4 separate regions of the Homo sapiens genome follow, and all the other regions are linked to region 4. Evidence: promoter capture Hi-C in 16 types of primary human blood cells and fetal thymus (Javierre and others, 2016). All regions are on one chromosome and are shown on one strand. The core of a region is centred on a gene start or on the middle of the fragment in contact, and the rest is flanking DNA. Distances in the headings are between cores, read along the strand shown. Region 1 overlaps ELOVL6 (ELOVL fatty acid elongase 6). Region 2 overlaps MCUB (mitochondrial calcium uniporter dominant negative subunit beta). Region 3 holds the start of CASP6 (caspase 6). Region 4 holds the start of RPL34 (ribosomal protein L34).

Evidence for each region. The method cuts DNA at HindIII sites, captures the fragments that hold promoters and counts their contacts. A CHiCAGO score of 5 or more calls a contact.
Region 1: a fragment that was not itself captured here is called in contact with the fragment with the promoter of RPL34 in region 4 in 1 of 17 cell types (total CD8 T cells); the score reaches 5.6 in total CD8 T cells.
Region 2: a fragment that was not itself captured here is called in contact with the fragment with the promoter of RPL34 in region 4 in 1 of 17 cell types (naive CD4 T cells); the score reaches 5.3 in naive CD4 T cells.
Region 3: a contact is called between the fragment with the promoter of CASP6 here and the fragment with the promoter of RPL34 in region 4, in 13 of 17 cell types (naive CD8 T cells, non-activated CD4 T cells, fetal thymus and 10 more). The highest score is 16.9, in naive CD8 T cells.

Annotation. Positions count from the first base shown.
Region 1 is chr4:110,192,509-110,197,004 of GRCh38, forward strand. All of the region lies in intron 1 of ELOVL6 (ELOVL fatty acid elongase 6), which reads right to left. Among named protein-coding and RNA genes, the nearest start is that of ELOVL6, 3.9 kb to the right of the region's middle. RefSeq lists an enhancer at 3,805-4,099 and silencers at 3,834-3,943, 4,144-4,496. The HindIII fragment of the contact is 228 bases long and covers 2,455-2,682 here.
Region 2 is chr4:109,648,288-109,652,648 of GRCh38, forward strand. The region is part of intron 1 of MCUB (mitochondrial calcium uniporter dominant negative subunit beta); the gene reads left to right. Among named protein-coding and RNA genes, the nearest start is that of CASP6, 53 kb to the right of the region's middle. The HindIII fragment of the contact is 1,426 bases long and covers 538-1,963 here.
Region 3 is chr4:109,701,971-109,706,214 of GRCh38, forward strand. It overlaps CASP6 (caspase 6), which reads right to left and starts at 1,475. Exons shown (of 7, transcript NM_001226.4): 1 at 1,386-1,475. The coding sequence starts at 1,425. RefSeq lists enhancers at 77-136, 897-956, 1,847-1,896 and silencers at 1,137-1,246, 1,397-1,686. The HindIII fragment of the contact is 4,197 bases long and covers 1-3,133 here.
Region 4 is chr4:108,618,770-108,623,307 of GRCh38, forward strand. It overlaps RPL34 (ribosomal protein L34), which reads left to right and starts at 1,807. Exons shown (of 5, transcript NM_001319236.2): 1 at 1,807-1,831; 2 at 3,182-3,255; 3 at 3,336-3,435; 4 at 3,746-3,849. The coding sequence starts at 3,191. It overlaps RPL34-DT (RPL34 divergent transcript), which reads right to left and starts at 1,688. Exons shown (of 4, transcript NR_026968.1): 1 at 1,539-1,688. RefSeq lists enhancers at 1,345-2,544, 1,770-1,819. The HindIII fragment of the contact is 3,742 bases long and covers 1,337-4,538 here.

The DNA.
Region 1 (4,496 bases), core at 1,319-3,818, 1.6 Mb after region 4:
TTTACTTCCAATGTGAAAAAGACTTCATGAAAAAATTTTAAGCACTAATTATAACTAGTACAAATACACAGATGGATAATATAATCATAAAATATTTTGCATTAAGCTGGCTTTCATCCTTTGGAATCCTAAACAAGAATTGCATGAATATTTATAATTTATTAAAAGATACATGAAAGTTCATATCAAAGCTCCAGCACAACTTTACATTATTTTCTAGGACCCCACACAGATTACACGTTTTTTCTCTATGTATTTTCTCATTCTTCTCACTCTTAACCTAGTACATATGCCTACATCCCAGTGCTTTCTAAAAATTATTGAATGTCATGTTATGATCCTCACACAAGTTTTAATCCTAAATCAATATGAACTGTGATACCTCAAAATAAACAGCAAGTGACATGAGTACAATATAGACACACTATATTCCTACAGAGCTGACCAAATTTGTTGCTGCAATGTTAATGATGAAATGAAACTCTGGCCTACTCTGTTCCATAGTCACAGATGCACTGTTTTCCAGCCATTTTTCTTACAAATGAATGTAGAAGGTTGCAAGGAAGACTTCAGGAAGCAATTCAAAGCAATCCTCACTAAATGAAAAACAACAGCCAAATACTATGTCTGCATTTGAACAGTTTCATTAACATTATGCTGCTATATTTTTTATGCTGCTATATTTGAGTTAAATGCTAACACAGGTTTTTAGTGCTTTTTATGTTCTTTAATCATGAAATTGTACATCGTGTTACTTTCCAAACTTCACCTACAAAAAAGATATAGATGTACAACTCCTTTTAAAATGTTTCACGGCCGGTTGCAGTGGCTCAAGCCTGTTATCTCAGCACTTTCGGAGGCCGAGGTGGGCGGATTACTTGAGGTCAGGAGTTCAAGACCAACCTGACCAACACGGTGAATTCCCATCTCTACTAAAAATACAAAAATTAGCTTGGTGTCATGGCAGGCACCTGTAATCCCAGCTGCTTGGGAGGTTGAGACATAAGAATCACTGGAACCCGGAGGCAGAGGTTGCAGTGAGCCAAGATTGTGCCACTGCACTCCAGCCTGGGCAACAGAGTGAGACCCTGTCTCAAAAATAAAACAAAATAAAATAAAATGTTTCACTCCATTTTTACCTTTGGTAAAAACAAATTTGTGAATAAAAAGGCTTCCTCAGCTGAACAGCATTTAATTCTTAAAATTCCTATACTATCTTATAGACTCTATAATACAGAATACAAAATGTTAAAACAAGTAAACCCTTTTACACCACCAAGGGAGTGAGTGGGGAGAAAAGTCAGAAAAATATATAAAGCTTTGAAAGGCTGGATGTGTGGAGAATGCCAGGAGAGGGGGAGGGTTTCATGAAGTTCTAGGCAAGCCCTTTGAAGACGTCACCTCACATACATAATGTTACAGCAGTCAGCACAGGCCTCCTGCTTTCCTATTGGTGGGCACCGTGTCAGCCGACATCAGAAGATAATCATCATTGGCTAGACAATTACAACTGGAGCAACTAGCATCCACTGCTGTTAGCACAAACCTGGCAGGCTGCTGAAAGAGAAGGCAGAGAGAGCCCAGCTTCCCTTCTCACTCAATGAATTATATGTCGCCTTAGCAATCACCAGGTGATTTTGCTCCCTGGCTAGCAGCACTTCCAACTTAAGTCAGCTCTTAGTGAGAAAAACAGGTAAAGGCCAGACATCTCATAAAAGAGCAAAATGTCTCTATTTTCAATGTTGTAAAATTGCAAGGACTTTTCAGTGAAAATTAGAATTCAAAACTCCTATTTGGACCTATGAGCAGACATTTTTCTCTACCTCATGTAATAAACTCTCATTGACCAGATAATATAACCAGACAGGATATTTTTCACTGGACATGTAGTTTCAAGATGAGGCCCAGGATGATTCTACAAGGGAATACACTTATTACTTTGCATTTCAATTGCTATTCTAACCTATTATATATGAAACTTTTTGCTAGCAAAGTAAAAAAAGTCTGCAGTATTTACTTTCATGGCTAGGCCAATGAGTATGAGGTTAATGATTCATTAAAGCAGCAATAAACTTGAAAACTAGCCTCAGTTGAACCCTTTAGGGTTTATACAAATGCTACTCCAAAAGTCGGGCCCCATTCCATTAACACGTGCTATGGTTAGTAAGTATGGATTATAGGGTATGTTAACATTAATTTGCGCTATGGTTAGTAAGTATGGATTATAGCGTATGTTTAATAAAGTATTCTTATTTTAGGTCCTCTTAAATGATGCTAGTTAGCAAAGGCAGCATACTGGCAAAATACTACTCCTGGCCATTCTCACAGTTCTTCAAAAGCCAATGTAGTTCACTTTTGAGAGAGGATGTTTTAATTCTCTAAATTAACAAGTTTTGCCTGTTACTAAGAAGAGATTTATAAGGACAACCATAAATTCCCAAAAGACAGAGTAGAAGCTTCACTATATCATGTTTTTCCTCCAGAAGCTATTTCAAACCATTTTAAGTTAATGAGTCTGAAAAAGGTAAGATTTTATGGTTTCCTCAAGTTCCTCTCTCCTCAAGAGGGTCTAAGCCTTGGTTATGGAGTTCCCTTCTCCTATTAAAAAGGGAGTGAAAAGAAAATCTGGTTCAAGACTTTTTGTCCTGCATTAGCTGGATTCTATTAAAAATAAAAACTAAAAGCTTTAATTTGAACCTCCCGGGTTCAAGCAATTCTCCTGCCTCAACCTCCCGAGTAGCTGGGATTACAGGCACCCGCCACCACGCTCGGCTAATTTTTTTGTATTTTTAGTAGAGATGGGGTTTCACCATATTGGCCTGGCTGGTCTCGAACTCCTGTCGTCAGGTAATCCACCCACCTCAGCCTCCCAAAGTGCTGGGATTACAGGCAGGAGCCACCACACCCGGCTAATAAAATTAAATTTTAAAAAGTGTTTAAAGTCTTTTTGGCTGTACAGTTTTTGGGGAGGGAGGAGAGATAAAATTGGGCACCCTGGGATATTGGGAGAAATGCACAAAATCTGGCATTTAAAAAAAAACATGAAAGTAAGACAATTAGGGTCAGGAAGAGTTGCAAGGGAGGGGTAACAGCCAGCAGGGTTCTTTGACTGCAATAAGCAATCTAAGAACATAACATCAACAGAGAGCAGAAGCCAGGAAGGGAAAAATCCCAAGATGTGACTCTGCCACGGTATGCAAGTTCTAGCCTGTTAACCTTCGGGTATTAACGAGTAGTGCTGGCAATAAAATGGGCACCAATCACCATTTCAACTCACTGGACATTTTCTCAAGAATGTGCCTTATGCAAAGCACTCTGCTAGGTGCTTTGCAGAATCAAGAGTGGGATGACAAGAACCGTAACCTGAAGAGCTGATGGTCTGTAAGTTAATAACCATGTATATAACAGTAAAGGATATTGCCAGAAGAAAGGTACAGATAAAGAACTAGGAGGAAACAGTGGTCAGAACCTAACAGGAGTAGATACGTTGGCACATTTTTGTCATTTTCAGTCCCACGAGGGCTGAGACCTGTCTGGCTCAGTACTGAGTGAATGGAGAGAAGAGGCGGGAAATGGTACCTGAAGCAGGCCTAGGAAGTGGCCTCAGAGAAAAAGCAACAAGTAAATAAGAGGCAGTATCGACTGCAGTGGGCTAGGAATGGCGGGCGTACAGTGAATGGGGTCAGCCAGCAAAGCGAGGGAAAGCGGACTCCGGAAGAGCAGGTTAAACCAGGACGCAGCAAGTCAGAGATTCGGCACAGAAGCAAATGCTGACCACACTGACCACACAGGCTAATGCGGGAGGACTGTGGGCCCGAACAGGCCGGCTGGAGGATATGACAAACATGTGCGGAGAAGACCCGGGCCCGGGGCTAGCCAGCAGCGCGGTTCCGGCGCCCGCCGGCTCCGGCCACCGCCCCCTCCCCGCCTCCAGCACCACCCCCTAAGCGGGAGGAGGAAGTGCATCCAGAGAAGGACCCCGGGCGGTGGGGCTCGAGGGGCCTCGGCTGCCCCGAAACGCCGAGGTCTATCTGCGGTCTCGACCCTTAGTGTCCAACCTCCTTCCGGACCCACCCCTGCACCCCCTGGCCTCAGCGGCCCGGGAGGGCACCAGCCCTGTGCCTGTGTGGCTGCTGCACTTCCAGTCCTTCCGAGCGGCCCGCGTCCCCGCCTCTTAGGCTCCGGCTCGGGCCAGACGCGGCCCTTGGGCCCCTAGCCCACCGCCGCCACCAGCCACGCCGCAGCTCACCCCAAGCAGGCCTGCCCCGCCGGTGCGCGCGGCCCAGGAGGCGGGCTCCGCCCGGCAGCCGCCGCAAATGGCCATTGGGGCCCGGACCAGCCCGCGGGAAGCTGGGAGTGGGCGCGCTCCGGCCGGGCGGGAGGAGAAGGAAGCGGCGGCCGGGCCTCCCGACACTGGCCGGCGACTCCAGGGGGCTGGAGGACAGGAAGTTGAAACCCCCTTTTCGCAGCTGCGGCCCCGTGGCACCAGCTCCTAC
Region 2 (4,361 bases), core at 1-2,500, 1.0 Mb after region 4:
GTTCCAAAGGGATGACTGACTTAAATGCCTGGTTCTCAGAAGGGATGTAAATACAGTCTAGCTGAGAGGGAGCTGGTGAGAAATTACAGTAGGTGGAAGTTATTGTTGGCTGCTAGCCAAATATTGTATGTATGTATTCTGTTTCTGTACTGTATTAGCCAAATGCCAAACGTATTCTGTTTCTGTTCTGTTTCAGTCATTTTGTGGATTAACTACTCGTCTTGGGCTGTCCAGACCAGAAGAAGAAAAAATTTATTTTCACAGTGATGATTCATGTAGTACCTGAGACTGAAATATTAAGATAACTTTCTAGTCTGTGCTACAAAATGCAGTTTTTGTTAGGGAGATACATAGATCTAGAGGCAAGTAAGAGTTCATCAAAAGAGAGCTCCTATATAGCAGTTTGATTTTTTTTTTTTTTTTTGGTACAGAGAAGCAAAAAAAAAAAAAAAAATCATTAAAGCTTGACGCTCAGTGTGAGATTCTACAAAAGATCATGATGCACCACAGGATGTAGAACTAATGAACCCAAAGACAAGCTTCAAAGCAAAACAACTATGTAACTGAGGAGTACAAAGCAGCCTAACCCCAAAAGCACCATTTTTCTTGCCTCACACAAGAATTTCTTGTTTCTGTGGAGTACAAAAGTACGCTATATTAAGTGACACGGAAAACAACATTTAAAATGATGGAGTTTTTATTTATTTTATGCATATATTTTACCAATTTGCTTGTTCAGAATTTCTCATGCATTCTTATTCCTTGTTCGTGTTACATTTTGTTCACTACAGCTGAGTAGTGCCTTCAATGAAAGCCTATGAGTAGTTAAACCCTCAGTCTGTGTTGTTATAAATCCAACAACTTCTGTCCTTTTAACTGTTGAGTTTAATCTGTTTACATTTATTGTGATATCAGACAAATGTGGATATCTATCTACCACCTTATTCTGTGCATTCTGTTCATCCTGATTTTCCTTTGCTCATTTTCTTTCTCCTTTCTTATCTTCTCATAATTTGGCTAAATGTTTTTTTATACTCCTTTATCTCTATTGGTTTGGAAGTACACACTTTTTTTCTCTCTTCATTTAGTTTTACATCCTGTGGTGTGTAAGTTTTCTTACATCCTGTTTTCTTATGTGTTTGATTTCCTTTTTCCTGCAAAATGCTTTCAGTAAACATGTTTTAGTCGCTCAGTCTCAGTTTTGTTCAAAATGGTAGGTTATCTGACTATAGAATTCAAGGTTGATTGTTATTTCCCCTCAGAACTTTGAAGATACTCCTTTGCCTCTGCCGTCTATTAATTCACCTTATGTAAATTTAATTGCTTTCCTTTGTAGGCAATCTCTTTTTTTTTCAGGCATTATAAGAATTTTTTGTTTCTGGGGTTCTGTAGTTTCATCACATTGTGTCAGGGACAGAGTTAATTTCATTTTTCCTGCCTGGGACTCATTTATTATGATTTTTTAAAATAGAAATATGGTTTCACCCTGTTGCCCAGGCTAGTCTTGAACCCCTGGGCTCAAATAATCTTCCTGCCTCAGCCTCCCAAAGTGTTCGGATTACACGCATGAGCCACTGCGTCCAGCTAGGACTCATTATACTTCTTAAATCTAAGGACTCATCCTGAGAATCCTTAGATTTGAGAAGTGGGGCCTGATTTGGGGAATCTGAACCCAGGTGTGGTATGGAGGAGCAGCCCGGCTAACTGGATTAAATGAAAAGCAACAGATTTGGTTCATACCATTTGTTTATTCAAAACTATCATATCCCCCTATCAAGGGGGGAATGGTAGGCTCCTCAAGATGGGTTTGAGGTGAGGTGTAAACTAAAAGGAAGACCTGAGTTTTGGTGAGTCATTCTTGAAATTCAGCTCTGCATGCATGATGGGTTTGTGTAAGATTTTCAGAATTTTAATAATAACCCTCTAAAAAGGGTTGTTACAGGGTATGGTAGTTTCTCTTTTAAGCTTTACTAACATGTCTGAGGATTGTCAATATTCTTGGGGTTTCTAAATAAAAACTTGTACAGGAGTGTCTTTGCTTTAAAAAATTTTTTATTTTCAATTTCCCAAGTAACCATAGTTTCCTACTGGCATGCAAAAAAGGTTTAATATTTGACCCCTTGTTATTAATCACTTATCTTTGTATATGGTAATTTTGGTGTTGTAAACCTATTGTTTTTGAATTATTAATTTTTTTTACCCTGGCCTACCAGTCTCTCAGAATTGTGTGATTTTGAAACAGTCTCAAACATAACATAAAGAAAGTTGTAACCACAGTGGGAAGACTATTTTGTTTCTGAACTATTTGAGAATACATTGCAAACTTGATGCCAGTTCCCCTGAAACATAAGAACATTCTCCAACTTAATGACAAACAACCATCAAAATAGGAAAATTAATGTTAGTACATAACCACCATCTAATTTTTAGACCTCATTAAAATCTTGCCAATTTTTCCAATAATGTTCTTTATTGGCAGAAGTTCAGAATCACAGTTTAATTTAGTTGTCATGTCTCCTCCACTCTGGATCAGTACAACATTCTTTGACATTCATGATTTGACTCTTTTAAAGATTACAATTATTTTGTAGAATGCCTCTGTTTGGGTTTGTCTGGTATTTCCTTGTGATTTGCTTCAGATTATATAGCATCTTTGTCGGGAATATCTCAAAAGTGTCCCATGTATTCTCATTGCATGATTTCAACTCACCCCATTACTGATAATATTAATTTTGATCAATTAAGATGGTATCTGTCAGGCTTCTTCCCTTTGAAGTTATTATTTTTCCTTTGGGATTAATGCTTTTGTGTGAAGGCATTTTAAAACTGTGTAAATATCTCATTCCTTATTAAACTTTAAATTTATTCAGTTAATTATGTCAGAATACACTCATGGTTTCCTATCTCCTTCAGTGGATTATAATTTGTTACTATCATTATTTAATGCTAAAAATTGTTCCAGATTTTACCACAGGGACACCCTTTGACCTGCCTTCTGGGTTCTTTTGATAAGTCTTCCATCATCCATTGAGCACTTCCTTGCTTTCTAGTACAGCAAGATGCTCTAGGTTCATTTTGTCCTTATCCATGCCCAGCCCTAGAATAGCCATTTCTCCAAGGAGGCTTGCTTCCTCTTAGGTAAGCATAGTATCTGGTGCCAAGAGCTAGATGCTAGATGTTATTAGAAGTGCCACTGCTCATAGGCTCTCTCAGAAAGAGAATATACATATACATATATATGTCAGTATGAAAACATAAATATGTAAAATTTAAAATTTCTATACTTACATACACACGTACATTAAACATTTGCATCTTTTAAAAATTTTATATTTAATTTCATTTAATTATATTTCTTTACATTATTACACATTAAAAACCATGAATTCACACCAGTACTTCAGTCTAACACTACAGGGTTTATTCTACTCCCTTTCCATAATTGTAGTTCCATTCTTGCACAGGATAAATCTGACTTCCATTATTCTTGATATATTTTTTTCTTCTGCATGTGACAGTCTTTCATCTCCACTACCACTCCTTCCCCTGCAGAGATGGCTTTCTTACCCCAACTGGGCTCCAACATTTTTTTCTGAGCCTATTTCCCATGTGGAGGCCGTCTTCATCCCATTTGGGCTATGACACCCACACTAATTGCGCCTCCACTGTTTAGAAACCTTCCTCGCCACCCTTCTGTAGGCCAAAAGTTAAAGTTCAAGGTGTTGGCTCAGTTGGTTTCTTCTGAAGCCTTCTTGGCTTGTACATGGCTGTTTTGTAAATGGCTGTCTTCTCCCTGTGTCCTCACACCGTCTTTCTTCTGGGTGTACATGTCTGTCCAAATCACCACTTCTTGTAAAGACACCAGTTATGTCGGATTAGGGCCTATACTAATGACCTCATTTTAACTTAACCTCTTTAAAGTACAGTCACATTCTGAGGTACTAGGGGTTAAGACTTCAATATATGAATTTGCAGGGGGTGGGGCACAGTTCAGCTCATAATAGTGTTCTATTCAGCTTCCACTTGAGTTTAGTTCTCTTCTTCCTGAAGAAGTTCTTTAGCAAAAATCTGTGGAAATAAGCCATAATCTTGATTATACCTGAAAAACTCATTTCTTTCAGCCTTGCTGTAATCTCTTTTGTGCTGCTGTAACAGAACCATAGACTGGGTAATTAATAATGAACAGAAATGTATTTAGTTCACAGTTCTGGAGGCTGGAAAATCCAAGATTGAGAGGTCGCATCTGGTCAGGTTCTTCTTGCTGCATTATCCCATGGCAGAAGGTGAAAGGGCAAGAGGCGGAGAGAGAAAGCTCAATCAAACCCGCAGCCTCAGGCCCTTTTATAATTGGCATCAATCCA
Region 3 (4,244 bases), core at 225-2,724, 1.1 Mb after region 4:
TACTGTCATCGTCTTCATTCACTGCACTCTCTATGAAAATCTACCCATCGGCTCCATCAACAATGTATTTAGTAACCCTATGTAGAGTAACCTCCATCAGGCCTAGAACATGCACTGGGGAGTGCGGTGGAGGAAGAAGAGGAAGGGAGCAGGTGAGTGAAGGAAAGCCCCGGCTTCCCGCCCCTAGAGACTGCAACTGGACCCTGCACTGTGCCTCCAGGACAAGGCTACCTATCTACCTCCTCTACGACCATGTGACTTTTACAGCTTGCCTCTGGAGCACCATTTCCTTTGTGCAGCAAAATATAAAGAGTTCTTAAACAAAGGCACTCTAACCAACTGCAGGCGTTTCGTTCTTTTTTTTTTTTTTTCTTCTTGATTCGAAGTCTCACTCTGTCGCCGAGGTTGGAGTGCAGTGGGGCGATCTCGGCTCACTGCAACCTCCACCTCCAGGGTTCAAACGATTCTCTTGTCTCAGCCTCCCCAGTAGCTTGCGCCCAGGCCTGGCTAATTTTTTTGTATTTTTAGTAGAGACGGGGTTTCACCGTGTTAGTTAGGCTGGTCGAGAACTCCCGACCTCTGGTGATCCGCCCGCCTCGGCCTCCCAAAGTGTTGGGATTACAAGGCGTGAGCCACCACGGCCGGCCAACTGCAGGCGTTTCGACCTTTTTGTTTGTTTCACTCTGGCCAGGCTTGAAGTTTCTAAACTTTACCAGTAATAAGTGACAGAACGTACGCTCTTAGCAGTTGATTACTTTGCAGAAAAAAGTTATTGTGGTTTTGGCTCAAACCGACAGACAGCAGCAGGTTTCCTGGATGAAGAAGAGAGATACCGGGGTGTGCTGGCCGCCAGGAACTGGCCGCCTCCAGCTGAAGCCCGGGAGGACCCAGGGTCTTGGCCCGGGCACCCCGCGGGCCTGTTATGTTTTCATTATGACTCGGCGGAACAACCCCTCCTTTTCACTTTTCGAAGTGAGCAAACAAAAGATCCAACCCCCAACATTTCAAACGGCCAGGTGTGGGGGAACGCCAGGCCCGCGTGGGGACAGCCTTTTAAGGTTTAAACAGCCGGGGCGCCCCGAAAGCGCTCATCGCCCCGGAGGACAAAGGCGGCAGGGGCACGCCCCGGCGCCGGCGTCGCTACTCGGGACCGCCAGGAGGCGGCAGCCAGGTCCCCGAGTGTTTCTTAGACTGAAGCGCGAAACCGTCCCCACCCGCCCTGAGCGCTTCAATCCAAGAGTGCAACTTCTCCAGGCCGCCCTGCAAAGCCGAAGGAACCCGCGGCCCCACTCCGGTCCGCGCGCCCGGTCCACTAACCCTCGTTTCCCCTCCAGCCGGAGCAAGACGCAGACCTGCTCGGTGCCCAGTCGACGCCCCCTGCCTACCTGCCGGGTGCCCCCTGCGGAGCCCCGAGGCCGAGCTCATTGCAGCCAAACGCGCAGCCAGACACCTTGCCCTCCTCTTCCTGAAGCCACAGGCTCCCGGGCCCGGCCCCGCCCTCGGCCCTTCCTCGGCGGCCCCGCCCCCTGCCCCCGAGCGTGGGGCCAGTTGGTTCTGATTGCGCGCCGCCCGGGCTCCCGTGGATCGGGCTGGTCCTTCCCAGAGTTAAAGCTCCTCCCAGTCGCTCCGGAGCCCGCGGGGACCAAGAGCGCGGGGGCAGGGAGAGGTACGCGGTCTTCGCCTCCAGGCCCGCTGGGACTAACCGTGCCCTGGGGACATGCCAGTTGCCACCCGGGGGGACACACAGACCGCCTAGCCCGAGGCAATTTCACATCACTTGTGTGAGCTCGGACTCATTTAATCCCAGCTGCCCCAAACATTTGCTATTCCTTACTTTGCTATGCCTGTACTTTCTAGAGGTACAGGCATAGATTGTTTTATACCGCTTAGCAGATACTGCCTGTATTTCAACATTGGCTCGCTTTGTGTCTCTGTGTCACATTTTGGTACTCTCGCAATATTTCAAAATTTTTCATTGTTATTATGTCTGCTGTTGTGATCTGTGATCAGTAATCTTTAATATTATTGCAATTGTTTTGGGGCACCATGAACCGCGCTCATAAAGGAAGGGGAAATTAATCCATAAGCCCTGTATGTGTTTGGACTGTTCCACCGAACTTTCCCTTCTCTCTCCCCCTCCTGGGGCCTCCCTATTCCTGGAAACACAATTTTGAAATTAGGCCAACTAATAATCCTACAAAGGCCTCTAAGTGTCCAAATGAAAGGAAGAGCCTGTCACTTTAAATCAAAAGCAAACATGATTAAGTTAGTGAGGAAGTAATGTTGGTAGGCAGAAAGCTAGGCTTCTTGCTCCAGTTAGCCAAGTTGTGAGTGCAAAGGAGAAAAGCCAAGTCATGAATGCAAAGGAAAAAATTTTGAAGGAAATTAAAAATGCTACTCCAGTAAACACACAAAAGACAATAAAGCTAAACAGCCTTATTGCTGATATGGAGAAAGTTCTAGTTGGTCTGGATAGAAGATAAAAACAGCCACAACATTCCCTTAAGCCAAAGCCTAATCCAGAGCAAGGCCCTAACTCTTCAATTCTATGGAGGCTGAGAGAGGTGAGGGAATTGCAAAAGAAAAGCTGGAAGCTAGCAGAGAGGATGGTTCCTGAGGTTTAAGGAAAGAAACTATCTTCATGACATAAAAGTGCAAGGTGAAGCAGCAGGTGCTAACGTAGAAGCTGCATCAGGTTATCCAGATCTAGCTAAAATCATTGATAAAGGCAGCTACACTAAACAACAATCTTTTGTTTTTGAGACAGTCTTGCTTTGTCACCAAGGCTGGAGTACAGTGGTGCGATCTTTTGCAACCTCTGCCTCCTGGGTTCAAACGATTCTTCTGCCTCAGCCTCCCAAGTAACTGGGATTACAGGATGTGCCACCATGTCCAGGTTAATTTTGTATTTTTAGTAGAGACAGAGTTTCACCATGTTTGGCCAGGCTGGTCTTGAACTCCTGACCTTGAGCAATCTGCCCGCCTCGGTCTCCCAAAGTGCTGGGATTACAGGTGTGAGCCACCGTGCCCAGCCAAAACAACAGATCTTAAATGTATATGAAACGGCCTTCTATTGGAAGAAGATTCCATCTAAGACTTTCATAGCTAGAGAGAAGTCAATGCCTGTCTTCAAAGCTTCAAAGAACAGGCTGATGCTCTTGTTAGGGGCTAATACAACTGATGACTTTAAAGCCAACATTCCTTTACCATTCTGAAAATCCTAGTGCCCTTAAGAATTATGCTAAATATGATCTATAAATGGACCAACAAAGGCTAGTTAGTGACAGCACATCTATTTACAGCATGGCTTAGAGAATATTTAAAGCCCACTGTTGAGCTCTAGTGCTCAGAAGAAAGGTTCCTTTCAAAATATTACTCCTCATTGACAATACACCTGGTCATCCAAGAGTTCTGATAGAGATGTACAGAGACTGATGCTGTTATCGTGCTTGCTAACACAACATCCATTCTGAAGCCCAGGGATCAAGGAGAAATTTTGACTTTCAAGTCTTATTTACAAAATACATTTCATAAGGCTATAGCTGTCATCATGATTCCTCTGATAGTTCTGAGCAAAGTAAATTGAAAATCTTCTGGAAAGGATTCATCATTCGAGATGCCATTAAGAACATTTGTGATTCATGGGAGGTCAAAATATCCACTTACGGTATGTAACTAGAGACTAGAGGGGGAAAAAAAGAAAAACGAAAAATTAAAAGTACATGTATCAGCCACAGTGGCTCATGCCTGTAAACCCAGCACTTTGGGAGGCCAAGGTGGATTGCTTGAGGCCAGGAGTTTTGAGACCAGCCTAGGCAACAATGCAAGACCCTGTCTCTACAATTTTTTTTTTTTTTTAATTAGCCAAGAGTGGTGGCACATGCCTGTATTCCCAGCAACTCAGGACACTAAGATGGCAGGATTATTTGAGCCCAAGTTTGAGGCTGCAGTCAGCTGACTGTGCCACTGCACTCCAGTCTGGGTGACAGAGTAAGACACTCTTTAAAAAAAAAAAAAAAAAAAAAAAAAAAATATATATATATATATATATATATATATATAATATATATAAAATACATATATAAATATTTAAAAATTATATATATTTCAATTGGCACACTGGGTGGTATTTTACAGGCAGGACAACATACCTATCCATTTTATATATATATATATATATATATATATATATATATATATACACACACACATATACACACACACATACATTATACATAGGTATA
Region 4 (4,538 bases), core at 557-3,056:
CGCTATGTTGCCCAGGCTGATCTTTAACTACAGGTCTCAGTGATCTTTCTGTATCAGCCTCCCGAAGTGCTAGGATTAACAGGCATGGGCCACTGTACCTGGCTGTCTTTGAAGTTTTTAATAAGATTGCCATATCTCTCTCAAGACTGATCAAGAAAAAATGCAAATACAAATTTAAAGAGAGGGAAAAATAGTATTATGGAACTGGGTTAAGTACCTTAAGGGAAAACTACAACAATGAGACCACTATTCTTATCTACTTGGGTGGGGGAAGGCACGGACAGAGACGTAAACAACAGCATAGTGTGCCAAGGGCTCCCATCTCCTGTTCTCTTCTGCTCTGCAAAGTCTCTCTTAAAATATAGAGAACATATTGCAAGTAAATACATTCATTAGTGCATTTATTCAAAAACCACATTTGTCTCTCTATGCAAGCTTCCATCTCAATGCCTGGCACAGAGACGAAAAGGATTTCAGAGGACAAAAATCAAAGGACTGGAAAGGAGGGAAGTAGCTGATGACAAGGTCGGGGGAGAAGCAGCTATTTGAGAGTGAGCAGAGGGAAGGATATAACCAGAGCCTTCCATCTGGTGTTGTGACAAAGATGGCAGTGATGTGAGGCTTGATAGAATCAATAGGCCTCACAGTTCAAGACAGACTACATGCCCTCAGTCACTTGCCTGCTTTCTTGGTTTGCTAGATGGATTAGAAATACTAGAAGGAAAGTTGAGTGGGTACTGGGATATCCTATCCAAATCCTCTCTTCTGGGGCAATGCAGCTGCCTCACAGCAACCACGTTGTGGATCACCTGACCCCGCCTTTCTCAGCTTCCTGGAGGTGCATTCTAAGAGCGCTCCCCATAAGCCAACACTCAAGTCTCTTCGAGGTGTGTTTCCAGGGAGCCTGATCTAAGATTAAAAACTTAAAGGCCCCTTTTAGAATTGTCTTTTACAGCCCAGGCAAAGAGTTCTTTACTTTTTTAGAGGTCATGAATCCCTTTGACAAGGTGATGAAAGCCAGGGACCCTCTTCTCAGAAAAATACACACGTGCGCTTAATGTAAAATTTTACATACTGTTTTAAAGGTTAAACTTTACCACCCATGAAAAGCCTCAAGTAGTTCTTTGTACATAATCATAAGATTAGCAACCATTTACTGAGCACTTCCTCTCTATAAGACCCTGTGCTAAGTGCTTTAACTTCATAATGCCTTTGATCATGACATAACATGGCACGGTAGTTCCTAATATCTTCCTTTTAGAGATTTAAGGGCTTGCTCAAAGTAACATAGCTAATAATTAGCAGACACTGGATTAAAATCCCAATTTGTTTGTAAAGCTTGTGCTCTGAATAAATGACAAGGAAAGAGAAGGGAAGGTTGAAGAAGGGAAGGTTCTTGAAGGTCCCTGGTCCTTGAAGGTCCCTTAACCATAAATGTCAAGAGTTGGGATTTAAACCCAGGTCTAACGCCAGAGCTGGCGCCCTTTAGATTAAAAGTGCAGTGTCCATGACAACGAAAGAAGTTGATTTTGTCCCACCTTTGCTCTTTGCGGCTTTTCATTTGCGTTTGTTTCCACAGCGATTTCCAATAGATTTCTGCGTGGCCTTGACACAGACAGCTAGTGTGAATCCCCGCCCACAGAGGGGCGGCACGTTGGTTGCCGTACAACGTGGTGGTTCCCTGCATCTCTGCCCACGTCGGAGAGGTGCGTCGGCTTCCGTACAACACGGATACTCTCTCTCTGACGCAACTTCCTGTCCTGCGCAATTCTATTTGACCTTTGAACTGGCAAAGGCTTTTTTCTTCCTCTTCCGGGGACGTTGTCTGCAGGTATGGATGTTGTTCTCTTTTCCCTGTCTTTATTTCCTTACCAATCGGCTGCCATCCGAGGAGCTGAGGAAGCCTAGAGCTCTCAGAAGCAGTCCTTTGAGCTGGTGTAGGGGTAAGGGGCACAACAGGGAGGTTGGTGGTGAGGAAGTTCCTTACTTTGATCTTTGGAAATCCCTTGTTCCTGGTGGCACCTCCAAAGCCGTGAGTAGCCACAGCTCACCACCCGGGACTTTGCTGCATTCCAAGTGTAGCGTTTGGAGACTAACGAGTTGTGGTTTGGCGGTTTGAGTCTGGAAAATCGCCAAACGTTTTCATATTTTACACCCACGTTTTCACAGCACGCCTGTACGTGTCCTTAGTCTTTGGGAGGGCAGGGTCCGGCGAGTTCGGGTGGTTTCGCTATTTGGCTTCTGCGTCCAAGGCCCATGTCAAGGAAGAGAAAAATGTGTTAGAAGTTTCTGTCTTGCTTTTGGAGATGCAAACAGAATAATGGCTTCATAAATCACTCGCACTGGTTTTACGTGTCAAGTTTTGGTGTCTGGTAATTCTGTTTTAGTTTAATTTTAGTGAGAGGCTTGTGACAACAAATGAGGTGGTTACAAGGGGTGGAATGGGAAGATTAAATTAGTTCAAGTATTGATTATGTTTTACGTTGGGTAGTTCCCTTAACGAAGTTGCTCGTATGCATATCTGTATAACCGATTTGCTAAATAACATCACGATGTTTCCAGAAGTGGGAAGAAAGCAGGTGCCATAACCCAAAGAAACTTGTGTAATATCAAAATTAGTATTAAAGGGTATGCCTTTACGCAGGTGGTGCTTTAGGGCAAGACATTGAACCCTGATATGTGCCAGGCATTGTGTTGGGACGGATAGCCCACGTCGTTTAATCCTAATGACAGCTGTATAAAGTAGACAGAATTCCCATGTTAGAGATAAGGAGGCTAGCTCCTTGCCCTTTATATTCCCAGTAAATGGCATAGCTAAGGATTCGACTTCAGAGCTCACTTTTTGTGCTCTTTGTTTAAAGCGGTGTTTCTCCAACTGGGCTCGTGGCACTTTTCTGGACACCACTCCAAACAAAATTAGACTCTGAGTAAGGAGCCTGGTCATCAGAACGTTAAGGAAGTGCCACGTTTGATTACCATCAGGAAAGCTAACATTCTTGGCCTCTTGTTTATCAGTCACCTTTAAATACAAGTAGTTTTAAAATGTGGAATAATACATCTTAATTTAAGGGTGTTACATACAAGGATATGTATGTGAATGAAATAGACCACATGATACTGTTTTGAGATTTTATTTACTTTTACAATGGAAAGATTTGATGTTACTCTATTCTTAATTTAGGCACTCAGAATGGTCCAGCGTTTGACATACCGACGTAGGCTTTCCTACAATACAGCCTCTAACAAAACTAGGCTGTAAGTATTTCTGAAAATTTTAAGTATATATTGTCATTTACTCTACAAAATGCTGACCTACTGACTGTTTCACTTTCTAGGTCCCGAACCCCTGGTAATAGAATTGTTTACCTTTATACCAAGAAGGTTGGGAAAGCACCAAAATCTGCATGTGGTGTGTGCCCAGGCAGACTTCGAGGGGTAAGTGTACCTTTTACTGTGTGCAGCCTAACAAGTCTTGAACTTACTGAGCTTTCATCCCTTGACGATGGAATGAATCAAGGAGAGGTTACCACTAAGAGGGTTCAGAATTACTAAACATTCATGAGCCAAATCTGCCACGAACATAGACTTTTTAAACCAATCTGAGAAATGCAGTGAAATGCCTTTCAGATAAATGAGTACACCATTTCCCTTTGTAACCTACTTTAAACTTGCCCTTAACACTTAACAAAATTTAGGGAAATTTCTGTTAAAGCATCACAAAAATCTTAATATTTTTCTTATGCAGGTTCGTGCTGTAAGACCTAAAGTTCTTATGAGATTGTCCAAAACAAAGAAACATGTCAGCAGGGCCTATGGTGGTTCCATGTGTGCTAAATGTGTTCGTGACAGGTAAGTTAAATGCTTAAATGGGCTTTCCTTAGCAAATTATTGTGTGTGTTATACTGTCTGCTGATCAGTACAATGGTGAAGCAACTCATTTTAAACCAGTTGCATGCTTTAGAACCCTTTCTTTGCTATGGATAATTGATGCTGCACAAAGCAGGAAATGATATTCAAAGTAATAATTTGGGGGCATATTTATGCTAGATGTGGAGATTAAAAGGAACTTGGTTTTGTTCAGGAGGTGGGTAAGAAAGTCTCTGTTAGTGGTTTGGACAAAGATAGATGGAGTGTGGAAGGTGTTAAAAGTGTAGGAACAGAAGAGTTGTGTATTCTCATGTGCGGAAGGTGTTAAAAGTGTAGGAACAGAAGAGTTGTGTATTCTCATGAGCATAGGGTTGCAGGAGATGATGGACAACAAAGGTAGAAAAGCCAGATTATGGCCAGGTGTGGTGGCTTATGCCTGAAATCCCAACACTTTGGGAGGCGGAGGCAGGCAGATACCTGAGGTTGGGAGTTTGAGACCAGGCTGACCAACATGGAGAAACACCGTCTCTACTAAAAATACAAAAAGGTAGCTGGGCGTGGTGGCGCATGCCTGTGATCCCAGCTACTCAGAGACTGAGGCAGGAGAATTGCTGGAAGCTGGGAGGCAGAGGTTGTGGTGAGCTGCGATTGCGCTATTGCACTCCAGCCTG